Linked DNA regions of Homo sapiens: region 2 is linked to region 1. Evidence: promoter capture Hi-C in 16 types of primary human blood cells and fetal thymus (Javierre and others, 2016). All regions are on one chromosome and are shown on one strand. The core of a region is centred on a gene start or on the middle of the fragment in contact, and the rest is flanking DNA. Distances in the headings are between cores, read along the strand shown.

Region 1 (7,005 bases), core at 4,506-7,005:
TCCCTCAAATAATTTCACAAATTCTTTACCATACAGTATTGCTAAATAAAAAGTTCAATCTGGTAACTTCTTGTTTCTGAAAAGATAGCAAACTAACAAAGCTATTGTCTCCTGGAGTCTCCAAATCCATTCCTGAAGATGCCACATATATGGGGGGGAGGGGATAAATAATGAGCCTAACTAGGAAACTCTGAAAACCCTTAGGAGGTGAAAGGGAGTTGGGTCCATTGTGGTGGAGAAAGGAAAGCCTGGAGGGACAAAGAGGGACACTAATGGAGGTAGAGGGTGGATGAAAGGATAGAATCTCTGATTGTTCCCTTTTCTACCCTACATTAGCTTGGGTGGATCGTGGCCCACCTCAACTCAAGATGCTTATAAAAACACAAAGTTAGCCCAGCAAGTGTCCAAGGAGGCAGAAGAACACCAGGAAAGCTGATAACTGTGTATACCAGTTGGTTTAGAACAGTTGTCTTCTTCCCTCCACCCAAAAGTCTAGATGATTACCCAGAAGACAGCAGCTCTTGGAAATGGGATGGCAATGTGGGAGTACTGGAAGTTAACCTGAGAGGCGTATGCTCTTCATAGGAGGGCAGACTGGGGCTAGTGCAGCCCAGATTGTAACACCAGAGGCTTTCTACCATGATGCTCATCCACTCTTCTGCTTACCCTCCACACTGAAAAGAATAACCAGAAGAGTTGCAATCCAAATCCTATGCTTTTGATCCTACCTTTCAAATATGAATTACAACTATGCTTGCTAATACTCTCAAAGGAATAGGAGCTCACCAGAGAAAATATTATAAAATCTGGACTGTAATTCTAAAAGATTTTTTTAAGCTGGATAATTTATACTGGAGGGACAGAATTAATGGACAAAAAACTGAAGATTTTTAAAAGAGTCAAAAGTCGGGCATGGTGGCTCACGCCTGTAATCCCAGCACTTTGGGAGGCCAAGGTGGGTGGATCACCTGAGGTCAGGAGTTCAACACCAGCCTGGCTAATATGGCAAAACCCTGTCTCTACTAAAAATACAAAAATTATCTGGGTATGGTGGTGGGCACCTGTAATCCCAGCTACTGGGGAGGCTGAGGCAGGAGAATCACTTGAACCTGGGAGGCGGAGGTTGCAGTGAGCCAAGATAGCACCATTGCCCTCCAGACTGGACAACCAGAGCGAGACTCCATCTCAAAAAAATAAATAAATAAAACGAGTTAAAGGACTACCTTCAGAGAGATAAAAAGGGATATTAGAAATATGAAGCAAAATAAGCTACAGACAATGGTTATGAAAAACATAGTGACTGAAATGAGCTTAGTGGATAGGTTGACTAACAGATTGCATACCATCAAATACCAAAATAGTAAGGTAGAAATTACTTGGGGAACTCTCCCAGAAAGTATCTGGAAGCAATAAAGAGATGGGAAACATAAAAGTTAAAAGGTATGCAGAAAACTCTGATAACAAAACCTAACATTACAAGAAAAAAGAACTACAGATAAATAAACATCCTTCATAGACGAAAACTCCTAAACAAAATGTAAGTTAATTGAATACAATTATATAGAGATATTATAAAACATTTGAGTTTATTAAGGTTGCAGGATATGAAATCAAAATACAAAAATCAATTGTATTTCTGCAACCTAGCAATGAAAAATCCAAAATGAAATTAAATGAGTAATTTCATTCAAAATCACATCAAGGCCAGGTGTGGTGGCTCACGCCTGTAATTTCAGCACTTTGAGAAGCTGAGGTGGGCGGATCCCTTGAGCCCAGGAGTTTGAGACCATCCTGGGCAACATGGCAAAACCCCATCTCTACAAAAAATACCAAAAAAAATTTAGCTGGGCATGGTGGCATGCGCCTGTGGTCCCAGCTACTTGGGAGGTTGAGGTGGGAGAATAGCTTCAACTCAGGAGGTCGAGGCTGCAGTGAGCCATGATTTTGCCACTGTACTCCAGCCTGGGTGACAGAGGGAGACCCTGTGTCAATTTAAAAAAAAACAAAAACCACATCAAGAATAAAATGCTTAGGAATAAATTTAGCAAAAGATATGTAAAAACTTGTACACTGAAAACTACAAAGCATTGTTAAGTGAAGTTAAAGACAATATAAATAAATGGATGGCATTCCGTTTTCATGGATAAGACACAATGTTGTTAAGATGACAATCCTCCCCTCACTTATCTATATATTCCACACAATCCCTATGAAAATCCCACAAGTTCTTTTGTAGAAATTGACAAGCTGGCACTAAATACACAGAGATGCAAACAACCAAGAATAGCCAACACAATTTTCAAAAGAAAAGAAAGTTGGACTTACTATAAAGTTATAATAGAGTATGGTATTTGTGTAAGGATAGACATATAGATCAGTAAAACAGAATATAAGGTCCAGAAATAAATCTTTATCTTTGTGGTCAATTGATTTTTTTAAATATCAAGGCAATTCAAGGAAAAAGAATAGGCTTCAACAACTGGTGCTTGGACAATAAGATATCCATATTAAAAAAAAGAAACTTAAACCATTACCTTGTCCACCTTATGGATGATATCCTTAGTTCTGCCACATGTGGGTTCCACCAACCATGGATCAAATTTCCACAGCTGGTGGAACCTACAGATGTGGAACCATGGATGCAGATGGCAGATTGTAGGACTTGAGCGTTCTCAGATCTGTGGTGGTCCTGGAACCAATCCCCACAGAAACAGAGGGATGACTCTAGATACAAAAGCCAACTCAAAATGGATCACAGACCTAAATGTAAAAGCTAAAACTATAAAACTTCTAGAAAATATAGGAGAAATATCTCTTTGCAACCTTGGGCTAGGCAAAAAGTTATTAGTGTGACACAAAAAGCACCATTCATTTAAAAATTGAGAGGCTGGGTGCAGTGGCTCACTCCTGTAATCCCAGCACTTTGGGAGGTGGGTGGATTACCTGAGGTCAGGAGTTCGAGACCAGCCTGGCCAACATGGTGAAACTCCATCTCTAATAAAAATACAAAAATAATTAGTCAGGTGTGGTGGCACCTGCCTGTAGTCCCAGCTACTCGGGAGGCTGAGGCAGGAGAATCACTTGAACCCAGAAGGCGGAGGTTGCAGTGAGCAGAGATCCCGCCATTGCACTCCAGCCTGGGTGACAAGAGCGAGACTCCATCACAAAAAATAAAAATAAAAATTGATAAACTGGATTTAATTGAAGTGTAAAATTTTTGCTCTTTTAAAGATACAACTAAGAAAAGGAAAAGCCACAAACTGGGAGAAAATATTTGCGAACCATACAAGGAATTGGTATTAATTATGCATTGCTTTGTATCAATTATCCAGAAATTTGGCAGTTTAAAACAAGAAACATTTATCCCCTCCCACAATTTCTGAGTGTCCGGAATCTGGGTTCAGTTGTTGGCCAGAGCCGCAGTCATGTAAAGCTGGACTAAGACTAGAGAATCTTCCTCCAAACACATTCATATGCTATTGACAGGCTGAAATTCCTTGCTGATTGTTGGCCAGTGCATTCGTTTGCCAAGGCCACTATAATGAACTAGCATAGACTGAGTGACTTAAATTTATTTTCTCACAGTTCTAGACGCTAGAACTCCAAAATAAGTTGTCACCAGTCTTGTTTTTTTCTGAGGCCTCTCTCGCTGGCATGCAGGTGGCCACCTCACTGTATCATCGTATAGTCTTTTCTCTCTGCAGGCATCCCTCGTGTCTCTTTTTGTGTCCAAATTTCCTCTTCTTATAAAGATATCAGTCAGATTGGATTAGGGCCGACCTTAATGGTCTCATTTTAACGAAATCACCTTTAAAGGTCCTATCTCCAAATATACTCACAGTCTAAGGTACTGGGTGTTACGGATTTAACACACGAATTTGAGGGGACACAATTCAGCCTGTAAGAGCCAGTAACTTCGGCCCACTACCACATGGGCCTCTTGGTACTCACAACCTGGCAGCTTGCTTCCCCCAGAGTGAATGATCTAGGAAGGAGACCAAAAAAGCAAGAGCCTAAGGCAGAAACCACAGCCTTTCTCCAAACCTAATCTTAGAGGTAACGTATTACTTCTGCTGTATGCTATCAGTGACACAGACCAATCCTGGGATGATGCAGGAGCAGTCTACACATTGGTCTGAACACTGTGGGGGTGGAGAATCACTGGGGAACATACTGGTGCTTGTCTACCACAAACCTATATCCATAATATATGAAGAACTACTACAATTTGATAATAAAAGACGTCAATTAAAAATGGGCAAAAGATCTGAATAAACATTTCATTAAAGAAAATATCCAAATGGCCAGTTGGCAGATGAAAAGATGTTCAACATCATTAGTCATTAAAGAAATGTAAATTCTCAATGACGTACCCCTACACATCTATAATCAAATAACTGATAATACTAAGAATTGGCCGGGATGTAGAGAAATAGGAACCCTCAGCCAGTAGGAATGTAAAATGGTATAGCTACTTTGGAAAACAGTTTGGGCATTTCTTTAAAAATTAACATAAATTTATATGGCCCAGCAATTCCACTCCTAGTTATTTACTTAACGGGAAATGTAAACATGTCCACACAAAGACTTGCATATGAATGTGGAAGCAGAATTATTCGTAATAGCCCAAACTGGAAACAAGCCAAATGCCCACCAACTGGTACATGCATGAAAAAACGTGCCACATTCATACAATGCAATGTTATTCAGCAATACCGGGCATTAGGCACTTTCGCCTAATATATTTATGATGTTCTCTGAGAGAATCCTGCAGAATGCTGGGAATGGGGAATAGCCTGACGCAGGCTGTTACTTAGAAAGAATGGAAAGAAAAATTAATGCCCTCTTTCCTACTTGAAACCCATCATGATTCCCAGTTATACACTGAGTTTGTGTCTGTCACTGACAGTTGATTCCTATGCATGATCTCATATTATCTTCGCAATGACACTGGGAGATTTATATTAATAATACCATGCTCCCTAGTTTATAGCTTCAAGAAACTAAAGCTTGCAAAGGTGTAACATCAGGTGTGTCCTTTTTCATACAAGATTGGATTTAATGGTTAACACAGATAAGGGTGGGTTTTCCCATTTCCAGAGTGTAAGGGTTTCGCTTCTCTCCCTCTGCCGGTCTCCTCCACTGTTTACACCCAGTAGGGCGTGGAGGGTGGCCTAGGGTGTGGCCCAGGAGGCTTCCCTAAGGGAAGGGGGTGGTGGAAACCAGGCGGTTTGAAGCCCATCAGGATTCCCAGTTATATATCGAGTTTGTGTCCGTCACTGCTAGTTGATTTCCATGCATGATCTCATATAATCTTTGCAATGACACTGGGAGATTTATATTAATAATACCATGGTCCCTAGTTTATAGCTTTAAGAAACTAAAGCTTGGAAAGGCCTAATAACATCAGGTGTGTCCTCCATTTTCATGCAAGATTGGATTTAATGGTTAACACAGATTAGGGTGGGTTTTCCCACTTCCAGAGTGTAAGGGTTTCGCTTCTCTCCCTCTGCCGGTCTCCTACACTCTTTACACCCAGCAGGGCGTGGAGGGTGGCCCAGGGAGTGGCCCAGGAGGCTTCTCTAAGGGAAGAGGGTGGTGGAAACCAGGAAGGAGACGAGAACCCCAGCGGGCAAGTCACGCAGTTACGCTTGTTCGCCCAGAGAATCCGGCAGGGCCTCCGCAGAGCCGTAAAGAGCTCTACAAGTCGTGAAGGGGCGAGGCGCAAAAGCGTAGCTTTACGGCGATTCGAGCAGTCGCGTCAAGCAGGCTATTCCGGGTTTGTGGCTGCTTGGCTCCACACGTGGGCCGCCGTAGGTATTCCGACCGGTAATTCCTCCTATTGGTGTGCAGCAGCCACATTGAAGGATAGAGTGGCAGCAGAGGCCAAGGATCGTGAGTTGATGGAGTTTGCTGCTGAAAATGAAGGGAAGTCTGGGGGAGGTCTCCACAGCGTAGCTGAGGGGGTGCGGCTAAGTCCAGAGCCTGGCAGGGAGGGAGTAAGGGACTTAGCAGGGGCGGAGGAGTTCGGCGGCGGAGAGGAGGGGACAGGGCTGACAGGGATAAAGGAGATAGGGGATGGAGAGGAAGGAAGTGGACAAAGGCCAGAGGAAATACCGATGGACCTAACGGTAGTGAAGCAGGAAATTATAGACTGGCCAGGTACAGAAGGCAGGTTGGCTGGCCAGTGGGTAGAACAGGAGGTGGAGGATAGGCCTGAGGTGAAGGATGAGAACGCAGGCGTATTGGAGGTGAAGCAGGAGACGGATAGTAGTTTAGTGGTAAAAGAAGCGAAGGTGGGTGAACCAGAGGTAAAGGAAGAGAAGGTAAAGGAAGAGGTAATGGACTGGTCAGAAGTGAAGGAAGAGAAGGATAACTTGGAGATAAAACAGGAGGAGAAGTTTGTTGGTCAATGCATAAAAGAGGAATTGATGCATGGAGAGTGTGTAAAAGAAGAGAAGGATTTCCTGAAGAAAGAAATCGTGGATGATACAAAGGTGAAAGAAGAGCCTCCGATAAATCACCCGGTGGGCTGCAAGCGGAAACTGGCCATGTCAAGGTAGGGCATGGGGGATTCCATTTAGGGGAATAAAGCTGTGGAGTCCTCATGTCTAGAGTGAAGGAAACCACACTATCAGGAGAAGGTGGAATAATGAAAAATGAGCACAAGTTTGGGTTTCTGGAGTCAGACGGCGTTCGCGGGGGTGGGTTGGGAAGTGGAGGGTGTTGTACATGACAACACAACAAATTCAGTGAAAATACATGAAATTAGTAGTGTCCAATGGGTAATGGTCAAGTTAGGAAAGTGGAAATTCTGGGGACCAAAAGATCAGTTGGAACTGGATCTGGCTTGACTTAATATGCTCTTTACTCGGTATTCCTTTGAGAGAGAATAGAGATGAGAAAGTCTAATAAAACTAACAATGACAAAGTAGATTAAGTTAAAACTAGGCAAAAATACACTTGACCTCAATTATCAAGCTTCTTCATGGGTGCTGTGAATAT
Region 2 (7,436 bases), core at 4,461-6,960, 1.0 Mb after region 1:
AAGTAACAAAGATGCTAAGGGGATGAACATTCAAACAGAGGTCCTGAAGCAGGAATGTGCTTGGCAAAGTTGAGGAACAGTGAGGTGGCTAGTGGTTGGTTGAGTGCTTAGTTGAATGGTTGACAGATTGTAGGACATGGAGTCAGAGAGGTAAGGTGGTGAAGGTGAGGTTGTAAGAGCCTTGCAGCCATGGTTAGCACTTTAGCTTTAACATTGAGTTAGGGGAGCCAAAGAAGAGAAGTGACAGGATCTCACATTTTAGGGGAATTACTCTGCCTACTGTGATATAAATAGACTACAGAGGAGCAAGGGTGGAAGTTTTGATAAGTTTTGGAAAACAACAACAGCAGCATTTCATAGTCACATCCCTTTAATTTTGCTAAAAAAAAGTGGAAAGCAAACTAAGCATTTTTAAAATAAAATTTTCATATCTTATCTTTCCTTTCTGATATAGTTCAGATATGTGTCCCTGCCCAAATATTGTGTTGAATTGTAATTCCCAGTATTGGAGGTGGGGCCTGGTGGGAGGTGATTGGATCATGGGGGTGGTTTCTCATGAATGGTTTAATATCATCCCCTTGGGGCTGTCCTCCATGAGAATAGTGACTCCTCATGAGATCTGGCTGCTTAAAAGTGTGTGGCACCTCGCTATCTTTCTTTCTTGCTTCTATTTTCGCCGTATGAGGTGCCTGCTCCCACTTCACCTACTGCCATGACTGGAGATTTCTGAGGCCTCCCTAGAAGCAGATGCCAGTGTCATGCTTCCTGCACAGCCTGCAGAACCGGGAGTCAATTCAACCGCTTTTCTTCATAAACTACCCAGTCTTTACAGCAATGCAAGAATGGCCTAATACACTTACCATAGTAAAGTTCTATCAAGCCCAATTTCTTTTAGCCCTGGGCTAAAAATGTTCTTAGGCTTAAGCCTACAATGGCTTAAGCAATAGGCCATTTACTGTCTCACATGATATGCAGTGTAGAGATATACAGAGCCAAGGTAGGCTAATGTAGCCACTCAGTAACATCTGGGCTTGGGGTTGCCTTTTCTGTACAGGCACACCTTAGAGGTAGTGCAGGTTCGGTTCCAGACCACAGCAATGAAGCAAATATCACAATAAAGGATGTCACATAGTATTTTGGCTTCCCGGTCCATATAAAAGTTATTTTATACTATACTATTGTCTATTAGTATGCAATAGCATTATGTCTTTAAAAACAAGGTACATATTTTAATTGAAAAATACTTCATTGCTAAAAAATGCTAACAATCTAAAAAAATCTTGAAGCCTTCAGCAAGTTATAATCTTTTTGCTAGTGGAGGGTCTTGCCTTGATGTTGATGGCTGCTGACTGATCAGGATGGTAGCTGCGGAGGGTTGGGGTGGCTGTGGCAACTTCTTAAAATAATGCAATGAAGTTTGCCACATCGAGTGACTCTTCCTTTCACAAAATATTTTTGTATCATGCAACGTTGTCTGACAGCATTTTACCCACAGTAGAGCTTCTTTCAAAATTGGAGTTAATCTTCTGAAACCCTGCTGCTTATCAGTTTAAGTTTATGGAATATTCTAAATCCTTTGTTGTCATTTGAACAACGTTCACAGCATCTTCACCAGGAGTAGATTCCCCCTCAAGATACCACTTTCTTTGTTCATCCATAAGAAGTAGCTCTTCATCTGTTCCAGTTTTATCCTGAGATTGAAGCAATTCAGTCACATCTTCAGGCTCCACTTCTAGTTCTAGTTTTATTGCTATGTCTACCACATCTCCAGTTACTTCTTCCACTGAAGTCTTGAACGCCTCAAAGTCATATATGAGGGTTTTAATCAACTTCTTCCAAACTCCTCTTAATGTTGATATATTTTGACCTCCTTCCGTGCCCATGAATGTTCTCAATGGCATCTAGAATGGTGAATCCTTTCCAGGTTTTCAATTTACTTTGCCCAGTTCCATCAGAGGAATCACTATCTATGGAAGATACAGCCTTATGAAATGTATTTCTCAAATAAGACTTAAAAGCCAAAATTACTCCTTTATCCATGGGCTGCAGAATAGATCTTGTGTTAGCAGGCAAAGCTCTTGGGTAACCAGGTGCATTATTAATGAGCAGTGAGATTTTGAAAGTAATCTTTTTTTCTGAGTCATAGGTCTCAACAGTGGACTTAAAATATTCACTAACCATGCTGTGAACAGATGTGCTGTCAGCCAGGCCTTGTTGTTCCATTGATAGAACACAGGCAAAGTCAATTTAGATATTTCTTAAGGGCCCTAGGATCTTTGGAATGGCAAATGAGCATTACCTCCAACTTAAAGTCAGTAGCTGGAGCCGGGCATAGTGGCTTACAGCACTTTGGGAGGCTGAGGGAGGTGGAGCATTTGAGCTCAGGAGTTTGAGACCAGCCTGGGCAACATGGTAAAACCCTGTCTCTACAAAAAATACAAAAATTAGCTGGGCATGGTGGTGTGTGCCTGTAGCCCCAGCTACTTGGGAGGCTAAGGTGGGAGGATTGCTTGAGGATCACTTGAGGCTGCAGTGAGCCGTGATCGCACCACTGCACTTCAGCCTGAGCAACACATTGAGACCCTGTGTCAAAAAATAAAAAATAAAAATAAAAAGTCAGCAGTTGCATTAGCCCCTAACAAGAGTCAGCCTGTCCTTTGAAGCCAGGCAGGGACTTCTCCTCTTTAGCTAGAAAAGTTCTATGTGGCATATTCTTCTAATAGAAGGCTTTCTTTTGGTCTACACTGAAAATCTGTTTAGTGTAGCCACCTTCATCAATCAGATCTTCTAGATAAATTGCTGCAGCTTCTACAGCGGCACTTGCTGCTTCACTTGGCACTTTCATGTGACGGAGATGGCTTCTTTCCTTAAACCTCATGAACCAAACTCTGCTAGCCTCAAACTTTTTAAATGAAGCTTCCTCATTTCTCTCAGCCTTCATAGAAATGAAGAATTAGGGCCTTGCTCTGGATAGGCTTTTGCTTAAAGGAATGCTGTGGCTGGTTTGATCTCTTATCCAGACCACTCAAACTTTCTACTTATCAGCAATAAGGCAGTTTCACTTTCTTTTCATGCCTGTGTTCAAGGGAGGAGGACTTTTAATTTCCTTCAAGAACTTTTTCTGTGCATTTATAACTTGGCTAACTGGAACAATAGGTCTAGCTTTCTGCCTATCTCAGCTTTCAAGATGCCTTCCTCACTAAGCTTAATCATTTCTAGCGTTTGATTTAAAGTGAGAGATATGTGACTCTTCCCTTCATTTGAACACTTAGAGGCCATTGTAGGGTTATTTATTGGCCTAATTTTAATATTGCTGTGTCTTAGGGAGTAGGGAGGCCCAAGGAGAGGGAGAGAGATGATCAGCCAGTCAGTGGAGCAGTCAACATATACATTGAATTGGCTGTCTTATAAGGGTGCAGTTTGCGGCACCCCCAAAATAATACAATAGTGACATCACAGATCACCGTAACATATTTAATGGAAAAGTCTGAAATATTTCAAAAATTACCGAAATGTGACAGAGACACCAAGTGAACACATGCTCTTAGAAAAAATGGTGCCACTAGACTTGCTCAATGCAGGGTTGAGCAACAAACCTTTATTAAAAAAAAATACAGTGCCTGTAAAGTGCAATAAATTGAAGTATAAAACGAGGTACGCATGTATTTTTCTTGCTTTTCTCTCGTGGTTGCAGAATATGCTGCCACAGCTCCAAACATGTCTGGCTTACTGGAGGATGTCCAAGGCAAGAAGGAAAAAACTTGTCCTTAGTCTGTCAGGATAAAATCCTTCCCCTGAAGCTCCTCATCCCCCACTCCCCATTATGGACTGAGCAGAATTAGGTCATATTTTTAGCCCCTTAACCAGTTATTGGTTAACAAAGAGGGACAGAGTACAAAGAGGTTTAGACCAGTGGTTTTCAAAGATCTGCTGAACCTTGGGGCGGCAAGTTTCCAAGACCCTTCCAGGGAGTCTGCAAAGTCAAAACTATTTTTGTTATAATACTAAGATATTATTTGCCTTTTTCCCTCTCATTATGAGTGCACAGTAGAGTTTTCCAGACGCTACCTGAAATAGCACAACAGATCGAATGCACAAACAGATATGAAAATCCAAATGCCTTCTATTAAGCAAGACATTAAAGATATGGGCAAAATTTTAAAGTAACACCATTCTTTTAACTAATTTTTTGAAAATAGTTATTTTTAATTAAAATGCGCTATTTGACATTTTTATTTTTATTCATTATTATTTTAAAAAATAGCAATTTTTAAATTTCTGTTTTAATATTAATAGCTGTAACCAACATAAAGAAAAGTTCTTGGGGCTCTCAATAATTTTACAAGTGGAAAGCGGTCTTGAGACCAAAAGATTGAGACCGCTGGTTTATTCAGGCAGATCTTATTCCTTTCCCGGGGTTGCTGAGGTCAGAGCTAAACTTCCCAGAGCTCAACTAAGCTTGGTTCAAACCTTTTAAAAATGTAACTGTTAATGGTAACGCCACCTGGGCTCAACAGCAGCTAGACGGGCCTCTGATTGCTTGGCCAAAGGAAAAGAGGAGGATTTCGTTGGGCCCTGAAGTTGTCACCGTGGCGTGCTTCTTCTGGCCCTGATCTTTCATCCAGGATTGGGGATACGTGCATGCAAACTGGGAGGTGGACATTCCTCCCGCTCTTGTTTTTCAGTGTTAGCATCTTCACTCATACTGTTTTGGTTTCAAAGTGCTCTCAGGAGTCTCCTTAAAACACCAAACCTGTTTTTCGCCTTTTGAATAAATCCCTTGGCTTCACCAAAACTAAACAAAACAAAAATCAAAGAACATCTTTGTGTAACCTATATGCCTGTGATTTCTCCATCTGATCTCCTTTCTCTGGCCTCTTTTCTTTTCTTCCCCAGTGAATTTTAGGCTGCCATGAAACCAGGGAGGAGACAGCCTGACCCTGGCCACGGGTGCAGCAGGCATACATTTTCATCGCACATACTTTGTCGAGTGGGTGTAAGACATTTTTGCATAAACTGAGTTCACGAATGCTATTTCTTAGTCTTTCCTTTGCCCGCGGTCTTCTGCCCAGATCCATTTCTTCGCCCTAATTTTACATATAACTTTCTCCCGGCTGGATTGTTTGCATCCACGACTCCCGACGCTTGAACCTCCCGTTCCTTGGACCTGACCTAATTCTAGGTGCCCGCAGTTTATTTCTCCACTTTGGCAAACGCACGTGGCTCTCCTGGAAGCTTCACTTTTGCTGCTAGGCTGGGTGTTGGGGTTCAGTGGGGCTCGGAAAACGTGCTCTAAAGTAGCCACGACCCCGGTCCCTGCAGAGTCCCGGCCCCCACAGAGCCCCGGCCCCGGACGCTGCAGGCGTCAGAAGGGGGCGGGGAGCAGAAAACGGCCGGGTGAATCACTGGGCGTAACAGGTGCCGCAGCCGCAGCTGCGCCCGCAGCGCGCGCGGACCGCAGGGATAAGGTCTTCTTTTTCTCCGGGTTTTTTTGGAGGTAAGGAGGAGACTACCGAGGCCCCCACCCGACCAATGCAGGCCACGGTTGTTCATCGCCTAGCAACTGGCGGAGCCAATGGGAGGCGGCGGGGCCTGCGGCGCCGGCGCGCGGGGGCGGGGTGGGAACCTCGGAAACCTGCGGAGGCCGGGAGGCGGCTGCAAGGGGCGGGGAAGGCGGGAGCCCGCAGCGGAGGAGGGGCCGCGGGCGGGAGGCGCTGCGAGGCGCTGCTGGCCCTCGGGCTGCGGGAGCCGGGCTAGGACGCCGAGCGGTGACTCCCCGCCGCTCCCGGGGGCCGTGACGGTGAGCAGCAGCGCCTCGCGTCGGGGATTGTGACGCGCCCCGCCAGGGAGGGGCGGGCGGGGGTGGGCGCCGGCAAGGGGCGGGCGCGCGCGGAGGTGAGAGCCGGCACCTGGCTCAGCGCCCCGTTGTTCGGCGGGAGGCTCCGCGCGGCTGTTGGGGCCGTTGCAGGGTGCGGGCGAGCGTCGACCCGGGCCGCTCCTGGAGGAGGAGGTGGGAGGTAGGTGCTGGCCCCGGGACCGCTCTCGCTGGCGTTCGCGGAGCTGCGCCTGCGGAGCGCTCTGACCCGGGGAGCCCCAAACCCTCTCTGGGATGGAGCAAGGTTGGCGCCCGGCGTTGGGGGACGAGCAGCGCGGGGACGTGGGGGAGGAGGGGATGGCCGATTTGGGGCTGCAGAGTCTCAGCAGCGGCCGTGGGGCATGCGGGGTTTGGCGATTTGCTAGTGCAGCCGCAAGAGGCAGTCTTTAAAACGAGTTATTGGGTGGCCGCTGCAGTGGAAGAGAACCCCGATAGTGGTCTAGTAAAAAGTCTAGGGGAAGAATTTACATCATCCAAGAGGCAGGCATGTGTGAAAATACTTTGGTTTATAATTTTATCATGAAAATACTTTGGTTTAGAATTTTATAGTCAACGACAGTAAACTGAATTGTGAGCTCCCTGCACATTTTTTGAGCCTATGCTGATTGCCCAGTTAGGCATATCGCTTGGGCCCAGGACATAGAATATACTAATTTGCTGTCTGCACGTATAATGTAGGAATTTTTAGATTATTACCCAGTTTCAGGACCCATAGTTGTAAATGCCAAACTGCGATTACTAGCAACGCTGATAAAGTTCTTGAATCTGAGAGAATTGAGATTTCTCTTTTCTGGACGCTGTAATAGGTTGAGGATTAGAAAAGAAGGTGATTTAGAAGTGTAAGGGTGGAGGCTTCTTGAACTTCCTGGGCTTTCTAACAATTCAGATTAGAGTCAAGGTGTAGAGTTAGCTGTGGGTGATGGATGTCATGGACCTTTTCATGGTTCATGGGGGTTTGGCTTACTGTGGGGTAGAAGAAAATTCTGGTGATCCTACAGTTTGATCCTGAACTAGAAAGGTTGGTATGAGTTGACTCATTTAGGAGAGTGAATAAAATTTGTAAAGAATTAGAAATTTGGAGAGGAAAGAAATGCCTTTAAAGTTCACGTCAAGCTATTTTGAAATTTAGAAGTTAGAGGTAGATTTATGAATTTGGATCCAGTCGGCAAAACTTGATCCATCAGATCTCTTATCCTAAAACTATCAACCTACAGGCTTAGGAAGCTTAGGTTATTCATTCACACTAAACAAGTAAGGAAAGCTAATAGCTAATTTAACACTCTGTTCTGCCTGCTGTTAATGAAGGTTTCTCAAACAAAACGGTTCTTTGAGAAGAGGGTTAGGAACTGATAATTAAAACGAAGGCTCTTTTAGTGACTGGCTGAACCTCTTAGGCCAAGTCATTTTGTACTCTTCCTTCCCTTCTCTTTCCCCAACTGTACAGGGAAGATAAAAAGCTCATGGATTACGTAACATGGGTGAGGCAGCTTGAAGATAACTGTGAAGACTTAGTTATTCTAGGATGAAATGTGGAGATCTCATAACACATTGTGCCTTGTGA

What was found. The method cuts DNA at HindIII sites, captures the fragments that hold promoters and counts their contacts. A CHiCAGO score of 5 or more calls a contact.
Region 2: a contact is called between the fragment with the promoter of SSX2IP here and the fragment with the promoter of ZNHIT6 in region 1, in 2 of 17 cell types (naive CD4 T cells and non-activated CD4 T cells). The highest score is 7.5, in naive CD4 T cells.

The regions. Positions count from the first base shown.
Region 1 is chr1:85,707,183-85,714,187 of GRCh38, reverse strand. It overlaps ZNHIT6 (zinc finger HIT-type containing 6), which reads left to right and starts at 5,755. Exons shown (of 10, transcript NM_017953.4): 1 at 5,755-6,559. The coding sequence starts at 5,904. RefSeq lists enhancers at 4,832-5,664, 5,603-5,962, 5,665-6,498. The HindIII fragment of the contact is 1,595 bases long and covers 5,389-6,983 here.
Region 2 is chr1:84,688,735-84,696,170 of GRCh38, reverse strand. It overlaps SSX2IP (SSX family member 2 interacting protein), which reads left to right and starts at 5,710. Exons shown (of 14, transcript NM_001166293.2): 1 at 5,710-5,800. RefSeq lists a silencer at 5,499-6,258. The HindIII fragment of the contact is 1,864 bases long and covers 5,238-7,101 here.